2 separate regions of the Homo sapiens genome follow, and region 1 is linked to region 2. The links are contacts of gene promoters, found by promoter capture Hi-C in blood cells and fetal thymus (Javierre and others, 2016). All regions are on one chromosome and are shown on one strand. The core of a region is centred on a gene start or on the middle of the fragment in contact, and the rest is flanking DNA. Distances in the headings are between cores, read along the strand shown.

Region 1 (2,824 bases), core at 238-2,737, 380 kb before region 2:
TGAGGAGGAAAGCACTGTCATGCTGAACAGGCAGTGCTTAACTCATATTTGGTAACAAAGCACAAAAGACCATACCATAATGTCCTAAAGAAATCTGTTCCTGACATTGCTACAAGGATTAAAACAGCTGTTAATTTTGCACAGGTTTAATCTTCCCAAGTTCCTGCCTGTTACCTCCTTTTAAGTCACCTGCTTCTTGGTTTAAAGTATTTTGCTAAATTCTACACATCCTATCAAACAACCAGTTTTTTTTTTAATTTTACTCAATTTACCTCCCCTTCTTTCTCTTCTATTATCAGTTGGATGGCCTTCTAAAGTCATTATTTTCTATTAGCATTTTCTCTGTTCCTTTTTATTCTAGTCAATATCTACACATTTTGAAATATACAAATCTACAGTAAAATAACCAAAATAAACAAGTAAAAGCAGGCAGAACCTGAGCCTGATATTTCAGGTTGTTGCTTTTTTGTCTCTCTTTTTTTTTTCAATTCCATATATTCTTTTCTCTTCTTTGTATTTTTTCAAGAAATGAAATTAAATGCACTACAGCTCCTCAGGAATGAGTAAATTCAAGATAAAAGTTGAGTAACAATCTTTAGAAACAAAAATTTGTCTGAATTTAAAACTGTTAAGCTTCCATTTTTCCCAAACTAAATTGGTAAACTATGGGGAAAAAAGTAATATGAAGCAGTTTAACTTTTGATTTGAGTACAGACAACATGTTGGCTAATTTGTATTGATTATATCTGCCAATCTAGATGCAATCACACTTTTAAAAGCAGAGTCCTGTAATTTGCTTTTCTATAAAATGTCACCAATGCATTAAATACTTCGAAAACAGTCTTTGTAAATCAATCTGTACTTATTAGATTTATTTAAATGATAGCATTAGAATTCCATGCCGAGATTTAATCTGGTTTTAAAATAACTCCCTACATGCAGAACACTTCCTAGGGTGGGAGAGGCTAGTTCCCAATTATTTTCATGCCGTCAGTACTAAAAGTATTTAATGACTCACTTACCTACAAGCTGTGAGTTGCCTGAAGACCTCTCCATTCAGTGGGATGTACACATTTTACTTAAGGCTATTTTACAGGAAAAAAAAAAAAAAGGGAAGAGTGCAGAACCACAGCATTTTCAAATGAAATGAAAAATGAAAGATCTTACCTTGTTCGTGTCAAAGGTATTATAAACTTGATCAATATGTTTATTGGCCTTCTGATTCAGACCTTGCAGACCCAAAAGTGTCTTAAATTCATGTAGTGTTTGCAGGCCGGATGGATATTCCATCATAAATGTTCTGTACCACACATGGGTCTCTTGTGTAGGAACTGCTTTCTGATCACCAGCTATAGATTTGCCATTCCCCATCTTGACTCACAGTCTACAGCTTTTCCTCAGGTTGTTTTCACTTAAGTTTTTGCTGGATTTAGTCCCTTACTCCTCACTAAAACTGAAGGCTAACATATGCCCTCAGAAAGCTACTCTAAACCTCTTACAGCAACAAGCTAAATAAGAATAGAAAGCCAGTGAGATTAACTTATCTGCCCAGTTTTAAAACCAAGGTCACTTGGCACTTGGTAACTAACATGCTTACAGTCATGCAGAGACATAGTTTTTTGTGAAGGGAACACGCAATATTTTAGAGAGGGTGATCCTTGTTATATTGTTAGCCATAAATTTTGCCTACATTATTGAGTGGTACAGTGGGTCTAATGGCAGGAACTTTGAGTTGCAATCAGGAAGCCTAGATTCTATGCTTTGTTCTACCACTTATTAACTATATTGAAACATTACTTACATTCTCGTGTTTCCTCATCTGTAAAACAGTAATAAAAGTTTCTGCCTTTTCATACCTGAGTATTGTGAAGATATATTTAGATAACATTTTACATGAAAAAATCATACATTGAGTATTATTAAAAAGAAGTCTATGTATAAGAGAGAAAAATAGGTAAAGAGAATTAAATAGTAGTAAGAAGAACTTCAGATGTAGTAGTCAGATAAAGGAACATATTGGGCTGTGTCTTCTGGCAGTGTTCTTCCTTTCTCTCCCCCACCCTCTGTTCTTACCTTTTTCTGGTCTCTCAAGTATCTACACATGCCACTGGCCTGCCAGCTTTATCTCACTCCAGTTTTCTAATCTGGCTAATCTTGTCCTAACCAAGCCCCATTTGCCAATGAACTTAAGAACAGGGTCAATGGACCTAAGAACTGTATCCAAGGTCCAGTAGTGGAAATGAATGCTTTGTGTGGTCCTCAACCCATTTTGGTACCAACCATACTTAGAACCAGAAAACCCCAGGTAGAATATAATTCTGTTACCCCTAAATTATAGTTCTCCTTTTTTTTTTTTTTTTTTTGAGATGGAGTCTCGCTCTGTCCCTCAGGCTGGAGTGCAGTGGCATGATCTCAGCTCACTGCAAGCTCCACCTCCTGGGTTCACGCCATTCTCCTGCCTCAGCCTCCAGAGTAGCTGGGACTACAGGCGCCCGCCACCACGCCCAGCTAATTTTTTGTATTTTTAGTAGACATGGGGTTTCACCGTGTTAGCCAGGATGGTCTCGATCTCCTGACCTCATGATCCGCCTCAGCCTCCCAAAGTGCTGGGATTACAGGCACAAGTCACCACACCTGGCCTACAGTTCTCTTTTCTAACCTCACTCAATTCTTTCTTTTATTTTCATTTTGGCCCAGCTCATATATCTGGTCTCTGTCTTTGTCCCTATTCCTTAGTCCTGACTGATTACCTGTTTATTATGAAACCCTTGATTCCTAAGAAGTAGCCATCATGGCCTAAATGAACTGCCTTGACCAGAAGTGG
Region 2 (2,822 bases), core at 198-2,697:
GCCGAGATCGGCTACTGCACACCACTCTGGGCGACAGAGTCAAACTCATTAAAAAAAAAAAATTAATATAATAAAATTTCTCCTAAATCTAAATCCTTTTCTTCACTTTCAGGGTGGATTACTGGACAAATTAACATTTGTATGGCATTTTTACATCTCTATAGCAGTTCTACATTTTGATTTGAAATTTATATTTGCATAAACCTTACAAAAAGTACTCACTTTGGACCTCACAAAAGACTTAAAACCGAGACAGTTAAAAATGACCCAGTTCAAGTCAAGAGGACCTGAGAGCGCTCGGATATGGCCGTTCAGTGCCTGTGCAACGTCTTAAATCCTCTCTTCCTTCAGTTTCTGTCTGCATTGTTCCCAATGTCTGGCTTCTGATTACTCCTAGGTCCTAAGGACGCTGGGAAAAGGGGACGAATTCATTCTCAGCACCCTCGGTTTAGGATCTGTGTCCGTCTAAAGGAAATTAAGGGGTTTCATTCTTTTCCAAACTCAGCTCAATTACCTCTTCCTAAAATCTTTCCTTTAACACCCTTTTCTCCTGTTACCATTTCCCTCTAGCCCCCATATTCAGTTAGTTCTTTCTGACAGGACTAAGCACCTCTTCAAAACAGAAAACCCGGGCCGGGAGCAGCGGCGGGCGCCTGCAGTCCCAGTAGCACTTTGGTAAGCCGAGGTGGGAGGATCGTTTGAGCCTGGGCGGTTACAGTGAATAGTGATGGTGCCACTGCACTCCAGCCAGGGAGACAAAAGTGAAACCCTGTTCCAAAACACAAACCTGAAAACCTAATTTTTTAACTTTTTCTTTTGAGGTGGAGTTTCGCTCTGGTTGCCCAAGCTGGGGGTGCAATGGGGCGATCTCGGCTCACCGCAACCCCCGACTCCCGGGTTCAAGCGATTCTCCTGCCTCAGCCTCCCGAGTAGCTGGGATTACAGGTGTGCGCCACCACACCTGGCTAATTTTGTACTTTTAGTAGAGACGGGGTTTCTCCATTTTGGTCAGGCTGGTCTCGAACTCCCGACCTCAGGTGATCCGCCCGCCTCGGCTGCCCAAAGTGCTGGGATTACAGGCGTGAGCCACCGCGCCCGGCCTCTTTTTTTTTTTTCCCCATCTTTTGACACACTCAACCTCCTCAACTAAACCTAGAAAACCTCATTTCTTACTTGTCTGCTCACTCCAATATACCAGGCTGCAATCATATTCTTGGGCCTTACTCTTAAAATAAAAAAAAAAAAAGTCAAGAGGAGAAAATTCGAAGGCACATTCTTTTCTCCTTAAAGGAAAAATCAGGAGTGCCCAGGGAAGACAGAAACACAAAGACAGACAGAAAACAAATCCACTAAAACTGTACTGACCTCCTTGCCTTTTGCCTTCTCCATACTTGTAGAAGAAGCGGAGCCTCGCAACATGCTTCCAAAATGGCCCCTGCCCCAAGATTGCTATTTGCAAAGTCTCCTCCCACTTCCTGCCGCCCGAAGACCCTTTTTCTCTCCACCTCACCTCTTCTTTTCTTCTCCCCTTCTGTTCCCTCCCCCACAATTTGTAAATGCTAAAATTGCATTCTTTCTTATTCATGGGGTGACTTTTGTCTGGGTTGAATTACTAATACTATTCCTGGCCCTTTTCTGTTCACTTTAAATGTAATTATCCAAAGTATGGTTCCGGAGACATTGGGAGATTGAGCACTCCTTCAGAACGATTCTACGGGGAAAAAAAACAAAAAACAAAAAACAAAAAAACAGTGGCCAGAGACTTGAGCAGGATGTGTGAAGGGATTTAATAATGGAACTTGTGGCAACAGTAGACTTCAGAGACCAGACTGGCGGCTTGAAGAAAGCTATTTTCTCGTACCAAATACATTCCATTTCCTAAGTAAGTTACTCAACCAACTAAAACTCCAGGTTTCTCTGTACTAATACCGAGCATCTTTTCATCTGCCAACGAACTAATAATAGTAGCTTTTAAAGTCTATAGAGTATTTGTTATTTATTTTGTAGAGGGCAAGTGGGGGGGTCTGGCTATTTTGACCTGGCTGGTCTCGAACTCCTGCCCTCAAGTAATTCTCCAGCCTTGTCCTCCCAAAGTGTTGGGATTACAGGCGTGAGCCACCACTCCCCGCCCGAGTATTTTTTTATATCTCAAATTGTGAGTTTTAAATTCAGTCATTATTGTTCCCCATTTTATATATGACTAAAGTTGGTATAAATTTTTATTGGTAACTTTTTCAATAGCACAGTAAGTGAACCCCTAACCTACTGACTCCCAAAGAAGTTCAAGTTTTTCTCCTTAAAATAATTTGAAAAATCTTTCCTCAGATCAGTGCTCCCTGTCAGATTGTCAAGAGATGTGAAGTGAAGGAAGCAGTGGCTGTGCGACTGAAACCCTCCCTTGTCAGGGTCCAAAGTCTCTTTTGTTCTTTGGTTTACTTTGTTGTTTTTTTTTCCTACATCTCATTGCTTGTCCTAAAATGATAAATAAGAGACTGTCTTTATCCAAATGGTGTTAGTAATCTGCTCACAGGCTAGAAATCCACGGACAGAAAAAGTAAGTAAACGGAGCCCAGGAATAGAGAAGGAAGTGCAGGTTGTGGACTGGGCAACCCCCAAGGCGGCAAAGAGGAAACCAGGTGAGTTGAGGTCATCTGGGAGATATTAGGGCTTTGATTTAACAATTCTTTACCACAGCCTTTGGTAACCACCAGTAGGACTTTCTAATTAAGGTTTGTGTATAAAGTGTATAACTGAATCATCTTTCTTTTGTCAGTGTAATTGAACGTAACATTCAGAATAACTGGAGTTCTGGGCTGGGCATG

The links. Contacts are between HindIII fragments. The CHiCAGO score rates a contact against its expected background, and 5 or more counts as called.
Region 1: the fragment with the promoter of GUCA1C here is called in contact with the fragment with the promoter of DPPA4 in region 2 in 4 of 17 cell types (neutrophils, M2 macrophages, naive CD8 T cells and 1 more); the score reaches 8.1 in neutrophils.

Annotation. Positions count from the first base shown.
Region 1 is chr3:108,952,392-108,955,215 of GRCh38, forward strand. GUCA1C (guanylate cyclase activator 1C) reads right to left here and starts at 1,488. Exons shown (of 4, transcript NM_005459.4): 1 at 1,168-1,488. The coding sequence starts at 1,371. The HindIII fragment of the contact is 5,644 bases long and covers 632-2,824 here.
Region 2 is chr3:109,336,099-109,338,920 of GRCh38, forward strand. DPPA4 (developmental pluripotency associated 4) reads right to left here and starts at 1,448. Exons shown (of 7, transcript NM_018189.4): 1 at 1,366-1,448. The coding sequence starts at 1,419. RefSeq lists enhancers at 1-336, 337-945, 946-1,553, 2,772-2,822. The HindIII fragment of the contact is 8,399 bases long and covers 1-2,822 here.